2 separate regions of the Homo sapiens genome follow, and region 2 is linked to region 1. The links are contacts of gene promoters, found by promoter capture Hi-C in human tissues and cell types (Jung and others, 2019). All regions are on one chromosome and are shown on one strand. Each heading gives the region's core, a stretch centred on a gene start or on the middle of the fragment in contact. The rest is flanking DNA. Distances are from core to core; before and after follow the strand shown.

Region 1 (3,012 bases), core at 425-2,924:
AAACAGAGATATAGATAAGGGAGCATTTGGGGGCACTTTCTAGGCTAGTTAGCTGGGATGTAAAGTGTGCATAGGAAAGTAGTGGGAGATAAGATTGGAACGGTAAGTTGGGGCTGGAGTTCATGAATACCAAATGCTAGAATAAGGAGTTTGTACTTTATTTGGTAGGCAATAGGAAAACATCCGGTGGTTTTTTATTAAGGAAGTGCCCCAGAGTAGTGCTTTGGAAAATTAACTGGTTAATGTTGCACAGGATGAATTTGAGATGAGTGATCCCTGTGGAGATGCTATTGTGTTAGTCCTACGTAGACAGGGAGGGACCTGCATTAGACTTAAATGAAAAGGAGGAGATGGGTATATGAGATACAGTTAGGCTGGGTGTAGTGGCTCACGCCTATAATCCCAGCATTCTGGGAGGCTGAGGTAAGTGGATCACTTGAGGCCAGGAGTTCCAGACCAGCCTGGCCAACATGACGAAACCTAATCTCTACTAAAAATACAAAAATTAGCCAGTGTGGTGGCAATAGTCCCTGCTACTAGGGAGGCTGAGGCAAGACAATCTCTTGAACCTAGGGGGCAGAGGTTGCAGTAAGCTGAGATTGTGCCACTGCACTCTAGCCTGGGTGAGCAAGGAAGACTCTTGTCTCAAAAAAAAAAAAAAAAAAAGAAGAAAAAGAAAAGAAAAAAAGAGTTAAGCTGGATATTTGAACTTGGTAACTAATGACTGCATGTGAGAATTGAGCAATATGATCAATCTCCATTTTCAATACTTGGGAATTTTTAGTAGGAAATCACAACCTTCTGAGACCTTGTCAAGAGATTAGCATTCCCTCTATAAACTTGTCCCAGTTACTGGCATGGAGCTCGACAGGGTAGGATATAGCTCTGTGATTAGAGGAGTGGATAGAGTGTCAGGATTAGATGAATGACCCCCAAGATATGGGGGTCACAGGTATGATATCATCAATGTGCCAGTATAAAAATGATTGTAGGAAATGAAGACCTTTCACCAGATCTGGTGGGAAGAGAGAGCATGGGCTTTCCGGTAAGATAGTCCTGGGCTGGAACATAGCTCCACCATTTACTAGCTCCAAGTTTATTTAGTTTCCTGGTAAATAAAACAAGGTTGTTGTATTAAGTTTAAAAAGGATAAAATATGTAAAATGCCTACCACAATGCCGTAGTAGCGATGACAGTGATGGACATCTGGTTCAATTTGCCGCACAGAATTTCATCAGTCTACACTCTGCCATTACCGGTTTGTCTCTCTGAAGCAGTTTTTAGCTACAGGCTGCCTCTGTCACTCTTACCAAAATACAGAGAAGGCAAGGTGTTAAAAATGACATTTTAAGGACCTTTTAGTAGATAGCTGTGCTGTGATATTTAACTGAATACTTCACATCTCACTATGTAGATTTCTTTAATCACTTTCTATTTGTTTTTTCATTTAAATAGGGGAGCTGAGAGGTGGTTTTTTTTTTTTTTGAGAATGGAGAATGCTGAAAAGTGACGGAAAAGAGGGTTGGAGGGAGGTAGGAATGGCTAGAGTTAGAAGCAGGTGGATGGGACAGCCCTGATGAAGAAACTCCTCAGGTTCTATTTCTTCGCTACTCGGGGATCTGCCCCAATTGGCCCAGTAACGCTATAATTTAGTATTTTCTGCGCATGTCAAGGTCTTTTGTCCCTCGGCGGACACCGTTTGCCAGCCAAAGCTATGTCTGCGCGCTCACCGACTTCATAGGGTGCCGAATTCTTTTTTCCCCAGGCTTGCCATGGCTAGTCGAGGGGCTCGGCAGCGCCTGAAGGGCAGCGGGGCCAGCAGTGGGGATACGGCCCCGGCTGCGGACAAGCTGCGGGAGCTGCTGGGCAGCCGAGAGGCGGGCGGCGCGGAGCACCGGACCGAGTACGTGTGCGGCGCGGCAGGGGCGTGGCCGGCCGGCGGGGCGGTTCGGGGCTGCCCCCGGGAGGGTCTTAGCTGTGGCGCGCGGGGCTCAGTCCGGCCTGGCCTCACCGCGGGAGGCCCGAGCTCCCTCTTCAGCTAGGTCCTATTGGTCTTCCTGGGCGGGTCAGCATTCAGTCTTCGCCCACCTTAGATCCCTCCACTGCGCTGTAAAACTGCCTTGGAGTGCGGATCTGTGATGCTCCTGGGCCAGGCCTAGAGTGGGCACAGCCTCTGTGGGAGATGTAGACAGGATCAAAGAGTATACCTTTTACGGCTGTTCCTCACAGCTCCTTTTATTCTCCCTCAAGTCCCGACCCTTTACTGGGCCCATCCAACCCGCCATCACCTCTTCCCAAACCCTGGAGGCTGCAGGTTAGAACTGCATTAAGGGAGCTGTCAACATATGGAATTGGAGTAGGCTATGTACCTTGCACCTAGGCTTCTATCTGAACATAAGGGGGAATGAATAAAGCCATCAAAAGCAATGACCTTGTTAAGAAAAGAAAGAAAAGGAGAATGACAGCTTTGTGGCCTTCAAGTGAGTGATTAGTTGGCTTGGGATAAATGGAGTGACATAAATGCATTGAGCTAAAGTGTATGAGTTAATTTATGCCTTAAAAGCAGGAAGTGGAAGGAGTGATTGAGTGATTAAAGTCAATTCTTCAGAAGGCTGAGGCAGGAGGATTACTTGAGCCTAGGAGTTTAAGTCCAGCCTGGGCAACATAGCAAGACCCTATCTCATAAAAATTTTTTCTTAAAAATCTGAATTTTTATTAATTTTACTGAGAAAAAACAACTAGCTATTCACCTTTTTAGGTGAATAACTTAAGTGCTTTGATGTCCCTTGCCCTTTTTGTCCTTTCTATCTAGATTTAGGTCTTCTGATTAGCAGGTCCTTCCTGACATGCTTTTTTTTTTTTTTTTTTTTTTGCTTTTGAACAGGTTATCTGGGAACAAAGCAGGACAAGTCTGGGCACCTGAAGGATCTACTGCTTTCAAGTGTCTGCTTTCAGCAAGGTTATGTGCTGCTCTCCTGAGCAACATCTCTGACTGTGATGAAACATTCAACT
Region 2 (3,100 bases), core at 126-2,625, 180 kb after region 1:
AACACAAAAATATTTTAATTTTGTGCTTCTCTTCAATTTCAATATACAAGATGGCTAAAGCAGTTCATTTATTCAGCTTATTTTGCAATTAAAGAGATTTTCATAAGCCAAAAAAAAAACCCAGAAAAAAGTATAATTTGAGGGAATAACTTTGTAAGGGTTCTTGTAATTTCTTCCCACAGAGCCCTATTTTTCCCATGTGTTAGATTCCATTAAGATTTAAGAGTTCTCAGAGATAAGAAGATGATCCTTAAAGAAAATCAGGGCCATCAAGAAGTTATAAAATTTACAGATAAAAATAAATATCCTAGAGAAATTCTTTAAAGACATTGGAATCCATCTAAACACTTTATAGCACGTGAATGATCTGGCCCATGCCCGCCTCTCCTGGCTTTTTTCCTATCATTCTCACTGGCTAATACCTGCAGTTTCCTTACCACTCCAATTCGCTCTGGCCTCTCAGCCTTTGCATGTGTGGATCCATCTGCTTGAGGCAGATACCCCAGCCTCGATCTCTATCTCTCTCTCTCCCTCTCTCCTTTTTGTGTTTTTTTTTTTTTTTTTTTTTTTTTTTTTTTTTTTTTTGAGACTGAGTCTCGCTCTGTTGCCTAGGCTGGAGTGCAGTGGCAGGATCTCAGCTCACTGCAACCTCCACCTCCTGGGTTCAAGCAATTCTCCTGCCTCAGCCTCCGGAGTAGCTGGGACTACAGGCGCATGCTGCCATTCCTGGCTAATTTTCTGTATTTTAGTAGAGACGAGGTTTCACCATGTTGCCCAGGCTGGTCTCGAACTCCTGAGCTCAGGCAATCTGCCCGTCTTGGCCTCCCAAAGTGCTAGGATTACAGGCATAAGCCACCGAGCCTGGCCTCTCCCTCTTTCTTTCTCTGTCTCCCCGATCCCCAATCCTGCCACAAATACCTTCTTGTTAATCAAGTGTTAGCTAATAATTTCCCTGATTCTTCCAGACAGAGTTAGTCTTTCTCCTAGCCTCATGTCCCTGAAAACAATGATCTTTTTGTGTTATATTAACTTAAAGGTCTGGTTCTTATTTGATTAACTCCTTGAGGTAAGAGCAGAGTTAAGCTTTTTGTCACTGCTGCTGTTTTTGTCTTGAAATGTATGAATATCCAGGACTTAGTCCAAGAGCAGAGTAGAAGCTTAATAAACATTTACTAAAATTTTTGAGGATAGTGGAGATGATAGAGAATTAAGTGTGGGCAAGAAAATTTGAGTGCTTAGATATACTCTGTGCACACATGTGTGTGTGTGTCTGCTTGTAATGAATGGAAGCAGGGACACTAAATGTACAACCATAGAATGATGGACCCCAAAATTCAATTAGTGAGTACCCCTTTAGGAAGAAGTGACACAGAATGCTTGGAAATGACAAAATGGTGTAGTGGGAGAAGGACAGATACTGTGGTCAGAGAGACCTAGGTTTGAATTCCAGGTCTGCTACTTATTATCTGTGTCAGCTCGGCCAATTTTTTAATCTCTTTGCATCTCAGCTTTCTCATCTAGTAACTGGCAATAGCTAAGCGGCTCCCAAGATTGCTGTGAAGATGAAGTAAGTATCTAGCAGAATACCTGAAAACAGTGAGGGCCCAATTAAATGTGAGTCATCACACTGTCTTCACCAGAGAGAACTTCACCAATCTGAATTTTTATCTGACTTCTATATAATTAGAAGGGCTTGAAGATTAGATACTAAAAAGCAAAAATAAAAACCAAAAAGACAAAACAAAAACCTAAGATATCACACAATGACATCAGAAACACTGATTTGACCCACGTATATTTTATGCCAGAATTATAATAGACATACTATAGCCAGGCAAAACTTGGTTATAACGTCAAAGCAATATTCTGTTTTTTGTTTGCAAGTTTCTTTGGTGTCTTACTTTGACATTTTCTTTTGAGATGTTAGTGACAGCACTTTGTAATTCCTACAGCATATGATTTACACACCTATAACCTTTCTCTGCCTAAAAAAACTCCTAGAACACATGTGCATGTATGTTTCTTGTAGCACTATTTACAATAGCAAAGACTTGGAACCAACCCAAATGCCTGTCAATGATAGACTGGATACAGCAAACGTGGCACATATACACAATGGAATACTACGCAGACATAAAAAAAGAATGAGTTCATGTCCTTTGCAGGGACATGGATGAAGCTGGAAACCATCATCCTCAGCAAACTAAAGGAATAGAAAACCAAACACCACATGTTCTCACTCATAAGTGGGAGTTGAACAATGAGAATACATGGACACAGGGAGGGGAACATCACACATGGGGGCCTCTTTGGGGGTGAGGGGAGGCGGGGAGGGAGAGCCTTAGGACAAATACCTAATCCATGCAGGGCTTAAAACCTAGATGACGAGTTGATAGGTGCAACAAACCACCATGGCACATGTATACCTACGTAACAAAGCTGCACATTCAGCACATGTATCCCAGAACTTAAAGTAAAAAAATAATAATAAAAAATAAAAAATAAATAAAATAGTTCTCTTGGAAAAAAAAACAACTCCTAGAACTCCTTTGTGCTATTGTTTTGGTAAATATTTCGTTTTGGTAATAAGGGAATGTAAAGGTGTAGCAGGAGTTTTCCCCCTTCTTTCTACAGAGCTAAGGACTTAAAAAAAAAAAAAAAAAGAAAGACCTTCTCTGAAAAAGACAATTTTAGGGCAGCCGATGCTTTCAAGGAGCATTAAACAAAATATCCCAGTGAAGTTCCTCACAGAAGGTTGGCAAAAAAGAGTGAAATAAATGACACCAAATGGAAGGGCCAAAAGCAGAGGAAGGGAAAAAAACAAATGGAAGTGAACAGACATAAACTATGAAAGTATTCTAATTTTGTGCATCACATTTTCACAACAAAAATGACAAATTGATATAAATCTTTATATATACGTGTATATGTGTGATATATATATATATATACACATACACACACACACAAATGAATATAACAAATTAACTTAAAAACATTTTGTCTTATTCAGGCAATCCCATTAGAAAAAAAAAATCACAGACTATAGAATGGAAAATCCATTACATATCCTGTAACATATGTAATATTGACATTTAAA

Evidence for each region. The method cuts DNA at HindIII sites, captures the fragments that hold promoters and counts their contacts. A contact is called where the count stands out against the background at its distance.
Region 2: a fragment that was not itself captured here is called in contact with the fragment with the promoter of ALG9 in region 1 in 1 of the 25 tissues and cell types used here (mesendoderm cells).

What each region holds. Positions count from the first base shown.
Region 1 is chr11:111,870,243-111,873,254 of GRCh38, reverse strand. It overlaps ALG9 (ALG9 alpha-1,2-mannosyltransferase), which reads left to right and starts at 1,674. Exons shown (of 15, transcript NM_024740.2): 1 at 1,674-1,903; 2 at 2,885-3,012. The coding sequence starts at 1,773. RefSeq lists a silencer at 1,729-2,038. The HindIII fragment of the contact is 8,331 bases long and covers 1-3,012 here.
Region 2 is chr11:111,689,836-111,692,935 of GRCh38, reverse strand. All of the region lies in intron 4 of SIK2 (salt inducible kinase 2), which reads right to left. It also overlaps a transcript of PPP2R1B not described here. Among named protein-coding and RNA genes, the nearest start is that of PPP2R1B, 75 kb to the left of the region's middle. RefSeq lists an enhancer at 1-314. The HindIII fragment of the contact is 5,056 bases long and covers 1-3,100 here.